Regions from separate parts of the Homo sapiens genome. Here regions 1 and 3 are each linked to region 2. The links are contacts of gene promoters, found by promoter capture Hi-C in human tissues and cell types (Jung and others, 2019). All regions are on one chromosome and are shown on one strand. Each heading gives the region's core, a stretch centred on a gene start or on the middle of the fragment in contact. The rest is flanking DNA. Distances are from core to core; before and after follow the strand shown.

The links. Contacts are between HindIII fragments. The study calls those that stand out against the background at their distance.
Region 1: a fragment that was not itself captured here is called in contact with the fragment with the promoter of CDC14B in region 2 in 1 of the 25 tissues and cell types used here (hippocampus).
Region 3: a fragment that was not itself captured here is called in contact with the fragment with the promoter of CDC14B in region 2 in 1 of the 25 tissues and cell types used here (aorta).

Annotation. Positions count from the first base shown.
Region 1 is chr9:96,851,007-96,854,040 of GRCh38, forward strand. ZNF782 (zinc finger protein 782) reads right to left here. Exons shown (of 6, transcript NM_001001662.3): 2 at 1,847-2,063; 3 at 941-999. The coding sequence starts at 955. Among named protein-coding and RNA genes, the nearest start is that of ZNF782, 2.0 kb to the right of the region's middle. RefSeq lists a silencer at 2,841-2,930. The HindIII fragment of the contact is 3,556 bases long and covers 1-3,033 here.
Region 2 is chr9:96,618,387-96,621,435 of GRCh38, forward strand. It overlaps CDC14B (cell division cycle 14B), which reads right to left and starts at 1,457. Exons shown (of 14, transcript NM_033331.4): 1 at 833-1,457. The coding sequence starts at 992. RefSeq lists an enhancer at 608-1,108. The HindIII fragment of the contact is 32,033 bases long and covers 1-3,049 here.
Region 3 is chr9:96,407,128-96,410,136 of GRCh38, forward strand. All of the region lies in intron 1 of ZNF367 (zinc finger protein 367), which reads right to left. It also overlaps the pseudogene NSA2P7. Among named protein-coding and RNA genes, the nearest start is that of ZNF367, 9.7 kb to the right of the region's middle. The HindIII fragment of the contact is 3,941 bases long and covers 1-3,009 here.

The sequences.
Region 1 (3,034 bases), core at 6-2,505, 230 kb after region 2:
AAAATTATAAATTTTTATAATTTGTGTATGCAAGGTGGTTTTTAAAATAAAATATCTTAGTATCTCATTTTATTTTTCTCTTGGTTTATACCTTGTCTCTCTGTACATCTATAACTTAATGCATACTGACAAAGAAAAATCTTGTTTGATAATGGTTAACCAACAATAAACATTTACTAAATCTAAAAAAAAATAAAAAAAGTAAATGATTACAATTTTCTATGAAAATGTAATGACAAAAATTATATTGAAAAAGTACAACTCCAGTATAAGCTTATAAGAAGCTGACTAATGAACTAATACATTTATTCAATAATCAAAATCTTCACACAAAAAGTCTTCGCAAGGTCCAAATTCATAGGTGAGTTTCATAAAATCTACATATAACACAATGTTCTCATTTTTCTAAATTATTAGAAAAGAAGAAACAAGAAAAAGTGCCCCATTTCCTTTCATGAGACAACCATGATACCCTAACTGAACAGGGAAACAGGAAAGTATAGTTTAATCCAATTTGTGAACACAGAAATAAAAATCCTAAATTATTACCATAAAGTGCTAGGAAAACATGTAAGAAGCAACTTACTACACTCATTAGCAACTAGGGTCTATACAGGAATTCAAGTTACTTTTAGAAAATCCATTATATTATTCACAATATTTACAGATTCAAGGACACAGCTATAGATTTATTCTGATACATAAAAAGTATTTAATATAATTCATGTGCATTCATGACTAACATGACATCTTGGCAAACTGGTAACTGGAGGGAACCTACTAACCCTGACAAAGCTGACAGCAGAGTTCATGGTGAAACTGTATATATTTTCCCTCAAGATTTACTTATCTATTTCTCCTTTTCCATTTAATGCAAGGGCCTATCTAAACCTCATAAAATCCATTACAATACAAAGTGGGGAATGAATAAAAAGCTTACCTGAAATGTGTTCATTTTCTGTGGCTCTTGGGAGAGTATAGAGAACTGTAAAGCCTCAGCTGGGGGGACAGAAAGAGGATGTCACACGGTCTCGCCTACCTCACAGCTCCTAGATTAGCCTCCCCAAATCTCAGCAACCCAGTTGGAGAGCAGCCTTCCTAAGGTAACAGGGCCCTTCAGGCCTTGAAAAGGCATGAGAAGCACCACGTAGAGGTGGCACTGTCTACGACAACTCTGAAATAATTATGGGGCTTAAACTGCTGTTTTTTATTGAGTGAACATAAACTTTTCCCAATTGATTTAACAATGCACATGTGCTTCTAACACACACACAAAAATAAAGACAATACAGGATTAGTTGAATTAAAGTACACCACAGGGTAAGACACTATTCTTTCATTAAAATTAACCTAGCAGGTACTGTGGTTCAAGCCTGTAACCCCAGCACTTCGGGAGGCCAAAGAGGGAGGACAGCTTGAGCTCAGGAGTTCAAGACCAACCTGGGCAACATGGCATGACCTTGTCTCTACAGAAAATAAAAACTTAAAAAATTAGCCAGGTGTGGTGGCATGCGCCTGTGGTCCCTGCTACTTGGGAGGCTGAGGCAGGAGGATCACTTGAGCCCAGGAGGTAGAGGCTGCAGTGAGCCATGTTTGTGCCACTGCACTCCTGCCTGGACAACAGGATGAGACTCTGTCTCCAAAACACAAAATTAACTTAGCAGAAAAATATTCAGTGTGCATCATTTAACTATTTTTCTTAGTAATATTATTTACCCTTGGTATAGACAATCCACAGAAAGTCTTATAAAAGAGATGAGATACTTTAAGGCAAAGAGTTTTAGATGTTTTAACTGGGATGTATTTCTCAAAAGGCCCTTTGGATAAGATGCTTTTGGTGACTCACCTGTGAAAGAATGAACGGAACTGTTTTCCTCCTGGCTCTACCACAAACGAGGGATCCCCGGAAACTCACTGAACCTTTCATGCCCAATGTCTTTAAAGCTTTCAAAAGAATCAGAAGTAGATAGCCACGGAAAACCCTTCATGTATCATCATGCATGGGATTCTATGAGGTAGGGACAAAGTCTCCAGTGTCACATATGTTAACAGCAGTATGGCATCTGTAAAGAGTGGAGAACAAAGCGACTGGGGGCTACTTTGGGATCTGGGGACAGAATCTCCGGTTACCCCTACCCTCAGACCTATGCAATGATGTGGCCTTTCCTGAGCAGCCTGTCCCTGGCCACCACCTAGCCCATTTTGCTCTTCTCAAAGCTGGCCCAAACCACCCACTGTCACCCATTGTGTGGTGGCTTCTGGAGGCTTCACCAAGTCTGGCTCATTCTGGGAAGGAGGATCAAGAACTGCTTCTGACCATACACATCTAGGATCTGCTCCTCTGTGGGCTCTTCTGCCTCTGCTCTGAAGCTCGGGAGGGAGGCCTAGGTCTGAGAGGTGTTCTCTTCCAGGTAAAACTGTTCACAGAGACCCCTGCTTCCCACCTCGCAAGGGCTGCTCTGTTCAAGGAGCCTGCGACCTGACCTGAGAAACCATGTTAGTGGCAAAAATCTGACTCTTAGAATTCTTTACATCAGACTTAAAAGAGAGACACCCTGACAATGCAGAAGGGGCCAGGAACCTGTCTGACCCAAGAGATCTGAAGACACACCAGAAATCCAGACTACATTTGACACATGGTAAGATTCCATCTACATCCACTCCCTGAGTATTTGGGGACATGACATTCTGCTAAGTGCTGTGAAGGCTGCAATGCTGGTTTTAGGCAGGTGTGATATTAGCGCCTGAAACGGGAAATAAATCACACCTGCCTTTGAACCCCAGCTCCCTCACTGCTAGCTTGTGACCTGAGCCTCAGTTATATTTAATGCAGATGTGGTTGTGAGGTATACATAGGCACCCAACGAATGGAACAAAGTGTCTTCTAAATATAACAGCAGCAGTCCGCTCATGGCTTAGTAGCCTACAGTCGGCTGTTTGCTTTACAGGTGGTGACTTAAAGTTTTAAACCAACGCCATGAAGCAGTCATTATTAATACCCTCACTTTCAGATGAGAAACCTGACTCTCATCCA
Region 2 (3,049 bases), core at 207-2,706:
TCACTGTCAATCCCAGCAAACCTAACAGCTGCCAAATTGGATTTATGAGTCTCCAAGAACAGTCGAATCAGCACTAACAGAACAGCTATCGAAGGGCTGCTTGGCTACCTGCTCTGGCTGGCTGGGATTTCTCAAAAGTGACAACCCGGACATTCGTCTTGCCGGCTGGCTCGAATGCCACCAACGTGACACCTTCCTTCTCGAGGCCCCGGCGGGGAGCGGACCCCGGGAGGCGGAGGCGTTCGGGGGGCGCGCTAGGGGGCAGGGCGCGGGAGGCCCAGGAGAGGGGCTCGGGCTTACGCGCCGGACGGGCAACGCGGCGCCCAGGGTCCCAAGGCTACGGAGCAGCGGGGGTTTGGCCAACGCCAAAAAGGGGCAGCTCCCGTGCCAGGCGCGTTCAGCGCGCTCGGGGAATCCTCAGGGGCTGATTCAGAGGTTGTGACTCGCGCGAGGGCCAACCGGGCTCGCAATCCCTGAAGGCGGAATCCACAGGAACTCAGAAGCAGCCCGCGGGGAGGAGCTGCAGGTTCGAGGCGCCGGGCTGACGCCCGCAACTTAGAAAGGTGACCCTCGGTCCATCTTGCTGGTGGAGGAGGGTGCACAAGCTAAAGTTAAAGCTCGCAGCCCACGCAGCTAGAAACTCGGGGCGGGGGGCGCTCCTCAGGAGCCAGGCTCCTAAAGGGGGTGTGGCGGCCGGGGCGTTTAAGGGGGTGGGGGCGAAGGCATTTCGGCCCGGCCCCGGAGGCCCCGGGCAGCCCGGTGGGAGGTGGGCCAGGGCCCCGCGCCGGGTGCGGCCGTCCGGGGCCCTCCGCGCGCCCACTGGCCGGCTCACCGGTGATGTCCAGGTACACGTCGTCCTGGGGGTCCCGGCGGCGCGGGTCTTGCTGCGTGGAGCTGCGGATCTTCTTCACACCCGGCGAGGTCGACGAGCAGCGCCGCGAGCAGGGGGGCGCGGCGGCCCAGCTCGACCGCCGCTCGCTTTTCCGCTTCATGGAGGCGGCCGCGGCCCGTCAGGGGGCCACGACCATGGCCCCGCGCGCCCGCGCGCCCGCCGAGGCTCCCGCCAGCCCCGCGCGGGCGCTCGGGGCGGCGGGCGCAGAGCGGCGCTGCGGGGACGGCGGGCGCCGGCAGAGCCCGGCGGGAGGCGGTCGCGCAGGAGCCGGAGGAGGAGCCCGGCCCACAGCGCCTGCCCCGCTGCCTCCCGCGGCCGCCGCAGGACCGGCGCCGCAGCCCTCGCTACAGCGCCTCCTGCCGCGGCCGGCGCCCCCAGCCCGCCCCCAGGTGCCCGCAGCCGGCTGGCGCGGCCGAGGCGACGGGGCTGCAGCTGGCGGCCGGAGCTGCCCGGGGTAACCGTGCGTGCCCACCGCGGCCGCGGCCGCTGCTGCGTAGGCGCCGGGGCACAGCAGGACGCGGCTCGTGGGGACCCCAGGAGGGCTGTTCCGTGGCGCTTCATTCACAAAAAAGGGCCCACAACCCTCCTCGGGGCCCGCAGACTGAGGCCTTTCATTGGCCAATGCGGCGTGACGTCACGGAGACGGGGCCTTTCTACAGGCAGGTACTCGGTGACGCCATAAAGAAAACTCTGAGGGCTTCCGCCAATCAGAGATAAAGTGTGCTAGCGACCTTCGCCAGCCCCCCAACTTTTGTTTCTTCTGTGTCCTCCAGGTGCCAGCACCCCAGATCCCAACTTTCTTTAGTGAGTCACCAAACATTTACACAGCCCCACCCTAGTAACTTAACTCCAGGTCTTTGGCATATATATATCTTAAAGTATTTCTTGAATTTCCTTGTAATTCGCGCCAAGAGAAAGGGACTTTTGCCATGGCTGCCAGCTTGGAAGAGGATGGCCTGATTACATTACCTGCAGCTATATAGATTTAAAGTAGAGTTGATTTCAGAACTTAAGTAAAACTATTTAAACAACTACGCTCTATTTATCGACCTATGCCCAGCATTCAAACAGGCCAAGCAAGGGCTTCTTAAGGACCCGATGAAACTTCCGTGGAACCACAATATACCGTGGTTGTTTGCACCTCAGAGTTTCTCATCTCGGAATCCAGCGCCCACATTAATTCAGTAAGTTTATACACTCATTGCTGTGTATACTGAGGTGTCGACAGGTCCGATTATATCATGAAGTATTGAAGCAAGGGGCAAGTTTTGTCCTTAAACTTCTTTATCTGGCACACTGTAGGGTCATATCCTCTTCTTTTTCTACTGGATTAAAATAATGCCCTATCTTCCTGGAACTTAACCAAAAACTGTCATTTTGGAGGGCCTTTAAACAAACGTCCATGGTAGCATCTAAAAGGGTGAGAAGATTGGAGGGCAGTGTTAAGATTTCACGGCCCCAAATTTTACAACATCTGCAAGCTGTCCCTATTTTTCACCAGCACTTGAACGTTTTATCCTGCAGTTCCGCAGTTAACTGCCAGCCTGGGGAAAAGAAAGATGAATTTGAGTCAGTCCCCTTGGAAGCCTCTCAGAAATGCAAATTTTCATAGAGCACCTCAGGAAGGGGCTCTTTGACTTCTATTGTTGTGGGCTTTTACCTTAAGCACGGCTAAATAAGGAAGTAGGGGGGCTGTGTCTGAAGCTAGAGATCAGCAACTCTGTAAGCACTTTTTCTTAAGGTTGGTTCTCCTGTTCACTCTTCCTCTGTTTCCCCTAAGGAAATCAGTGAAGGCCTTAAATTTAAAATGATCTACATGTCTGTCTGTAGGGGCAGCAAAGAAGCTAGAGACGTGGGAGGCTGTGCGGCGCTGCGCAAGTAAGTTTTAGAGAGCAGAAACGGTAGGGTCACAGTCCTTTGTTTTGACCTGGAGGAGGAGGAGGAGACCTTTCAGACCGGCCTAGGGGCTCAGCATTGGAAAGCCACCCAGTTTCCCAGACTACCAGGGATTTTAAATGAGTGGGTCTTGTTTTGAATAGATATTACAGGAGAGTGGTCCGTGTGGCTCCCTGGAAGTACAGAGAAACTACCTCCATGACATTATGATCTTTTGAGAGTAATTTGTTTAAATGTCAGGAGGCAGAGGTTGCAGTGAGC
Region 3 (3,009 bases), core at 453-2,952, 210 kb before region 2:
TGGGCAACATAGCAAGACCCCATCTCTATTATTAAATAAATAAATAGCTTTCCTGTCCCGGCCTGCGTGGCGTGGGCTTGTGGGTCTTTGAGACCCGAAAATTGAGAGCATTTTCGCACCCCAGGGGCTGCTCCTGGCGGCTCTGCGGCCGTCACCATGCCACAGAACGAATATATTGAATTACACCGTAAACGCTATGGATACCGTTTGGATTACCATGAGAAAAAGAGAAAGAAGGAAAGTCGAGAGGCTCATGAACGTTCAAAGAAGGCAAAGAAAATGATTGGTCTGAAGGCTAAGCTTTAACATAAACAGCGCCATGCTGAGAAAATATAAATGAAAAAAAGACTATCAAAGATGCATGAAAAGAAAAACACCAAACAAAAGAATGATGAAAAGACTCCACAGGGAGCAGTACCTGCCTATCTGCTGGACAGAGAGGGACAATCTCGAGCTAAAGTACTTTCCAATATGATTAAACAGAAACGAAAAGAGAAGGCGGGAAAATGGGAAGTCCCTCTGCCTAAAGTACGTGCCCAGGGAGAAGCAGAAGTATTAAAAGTTATTCGAACAGGAAAGAAGGCATGGAAGAGGATAGTTACTAACGTGTGCTTTGTTGGAGATGGCTTTACAAGAAAACCACCTAAATATGAAAGATTCATCAGGCCAATGAGACGGGGTTTCACCGTGTTAGCCAGGATGGTCTCGATCTCTCTGATCCGCCCGCCTTAGCCTCCCAAAGTGCTGGAATTACAGGCATGAGCCACCGCGCCCGGCCAACGTGAGTAATTTTTAATAGATTAAAATATTGGCAAATAGCCTGTTTCTGTAAATAAAGTTTTAATGGAACACAAAATAAATAAATAAATAAATAAATAAATAAATAAATAAACGTTGGACACAGGAAGGGGAACATCACACACCGGGCCTGTCGCGGGGTGGCGGGAGCGGGGAGGGATAGCATTAGGAGATATACCTAATGTAAATGACGAGTTAATGGGTGCAGCACACCAACATGGCACATGTATACATATGGAACAAACCTGCACGTTGTGCACATGTACCCTAGAACTTAAAGTATAATAAATAAATAAATAATAAATATTTTTTAAAAAACAATGTGGGAAGGCTACATATACAAAAGAAATGAAAACAGAATCTCAAAGACATATTTGCACATCTGTGTTCATTGCAGCATTATTCACAATCGATAGCAACCCAAATGTCCACTGACTGATGAATGGATAAATAGTGCTATATACAGTTTAGCCTAAGCAAACTCAGTGTGTTAGTAACAATGGAAAACTACTCAGCCTTCAGAAAGATGGAAATCCTGCCATATGCCATAACATGGATGAACCTTTAGGAAATTATGCTAAGTAAAACAAACCAGTGACAAAAAGGCAAATACTGCATAATTTTACCTATATGAGGTATCTGAGGTCATCAAACTCTTAGAAGAGTGGTGGTGGCCAGGGACTAGAGAGGGGCGGGGGAAAGGCAAGTTCAGTGAGTATAGAGTTTGTTTTACAAGATGAATAAATTCTAGGGACTTGTTGCACAACCGTTTACATATAGTCAACACTACTGTACTGTATACTTAAAAATGGTTAAGGTAGAAAATATTATCGGGTTTTTGCCACAATTTTTAAAATGTCAGAAGGCACTGTGGCAGATATTATTGCAAAAACATTCACTGCCCCTTTCACTGTGGGTCCAGAGTGCAACTTAGCCATATGACTTGCTTTGGCCAATAAAATGTGAGTGAAAATAGCCTGTGTAGTTTGGATGTTTGTCCCCTCCAAATCTCATGTTGAAATTTGATCCCCAGTATTGGAGGCGGAGCCTAGTGGAACGTGTCTGGGTCATAAAGACAGATCCCTCATGAACATCTAGACGCTGTGCTCGCTCATATTGTTACCATGAGATCTGACTGTTAAAAAAAGCCTGTCACTTCCTCCCCTCCCTCTTGTTCCCTCTCTCACCATGTGAAACCTGCTCCCCTTCGCCTTCTGCCTTGATTCGAAGCTCCCTGAGGTCCCTCACCAGAAGCAGATTCTGGTGCCATGCCTCTGGTACAGCCTGCAGAACTACAACCCAAATAAACCTATTTTCCTCATAAATCACCCACCTTCAGGTATTCTTTTATAGCAATGCAAAATGGACTAATACAACATACGGTTCTACCATCTCTGTTTTCTCTCTGCTTTGAGACCCATCTGTCCCAGCTTGGAGAGATTCCTTCAGGATCCTAGAATGAACAGAATGTGGAGCACACCAGTGGTCAACCCTCCCAGGACACATAACATGAGCCATGTTGAGGCTGAGATTGCCATCTTGAAGTTGCATTCTGCAGCCTGCTTTTTAGCCTGAGCTAACTGACTCAGTGGGTTAGTAACGAATATCTGTTGATGAAACAAAAAGCTCATCAACCTTACTTAATTACTCAAGAAATTCCCATGCATAATGAAACAGGAATTAGCAAGATCCTAATGGACCATGACTTATTAAAGTACAAATTAACAAATCAACTTCTGGCCATGATTGGTGGTCATCAAATTCTTTCATCTTCTTTACTCCTTGGCTGTGATCCTCAGTAGCCACATATAGCTCAAGTCTTGCTTGCTAAAATTATTAACACAGAGTCAGACAGAAGGAGCTACACAGGAGTGAAATCTTCATTGCCATCATTTATTAAGCCACAATAATTTCATGGATTATTGCTGGTTATGGTCATATCATGAATAATTGTTTTAATAAGTACAAAATAAATATAAAAGAATATAGCATCTGTGATCAATAAAAATAGGAGCTGATTCTGTTAAGAAAGAAACAGAACATGAAATCAGGACAATTAAAAACCACAGGCCAGGCGCGGTGGCTCACGCCTGTAATCCCAGCACTTTGGGAGGTCGAGGTGGGTGGATCACGAGGTCAGGAGATTGAGACCATGGTGAAACCCTGTCTCTACTAAAAATGCAAAAAATTAGCTGGGCGCAGTGGCGGGCG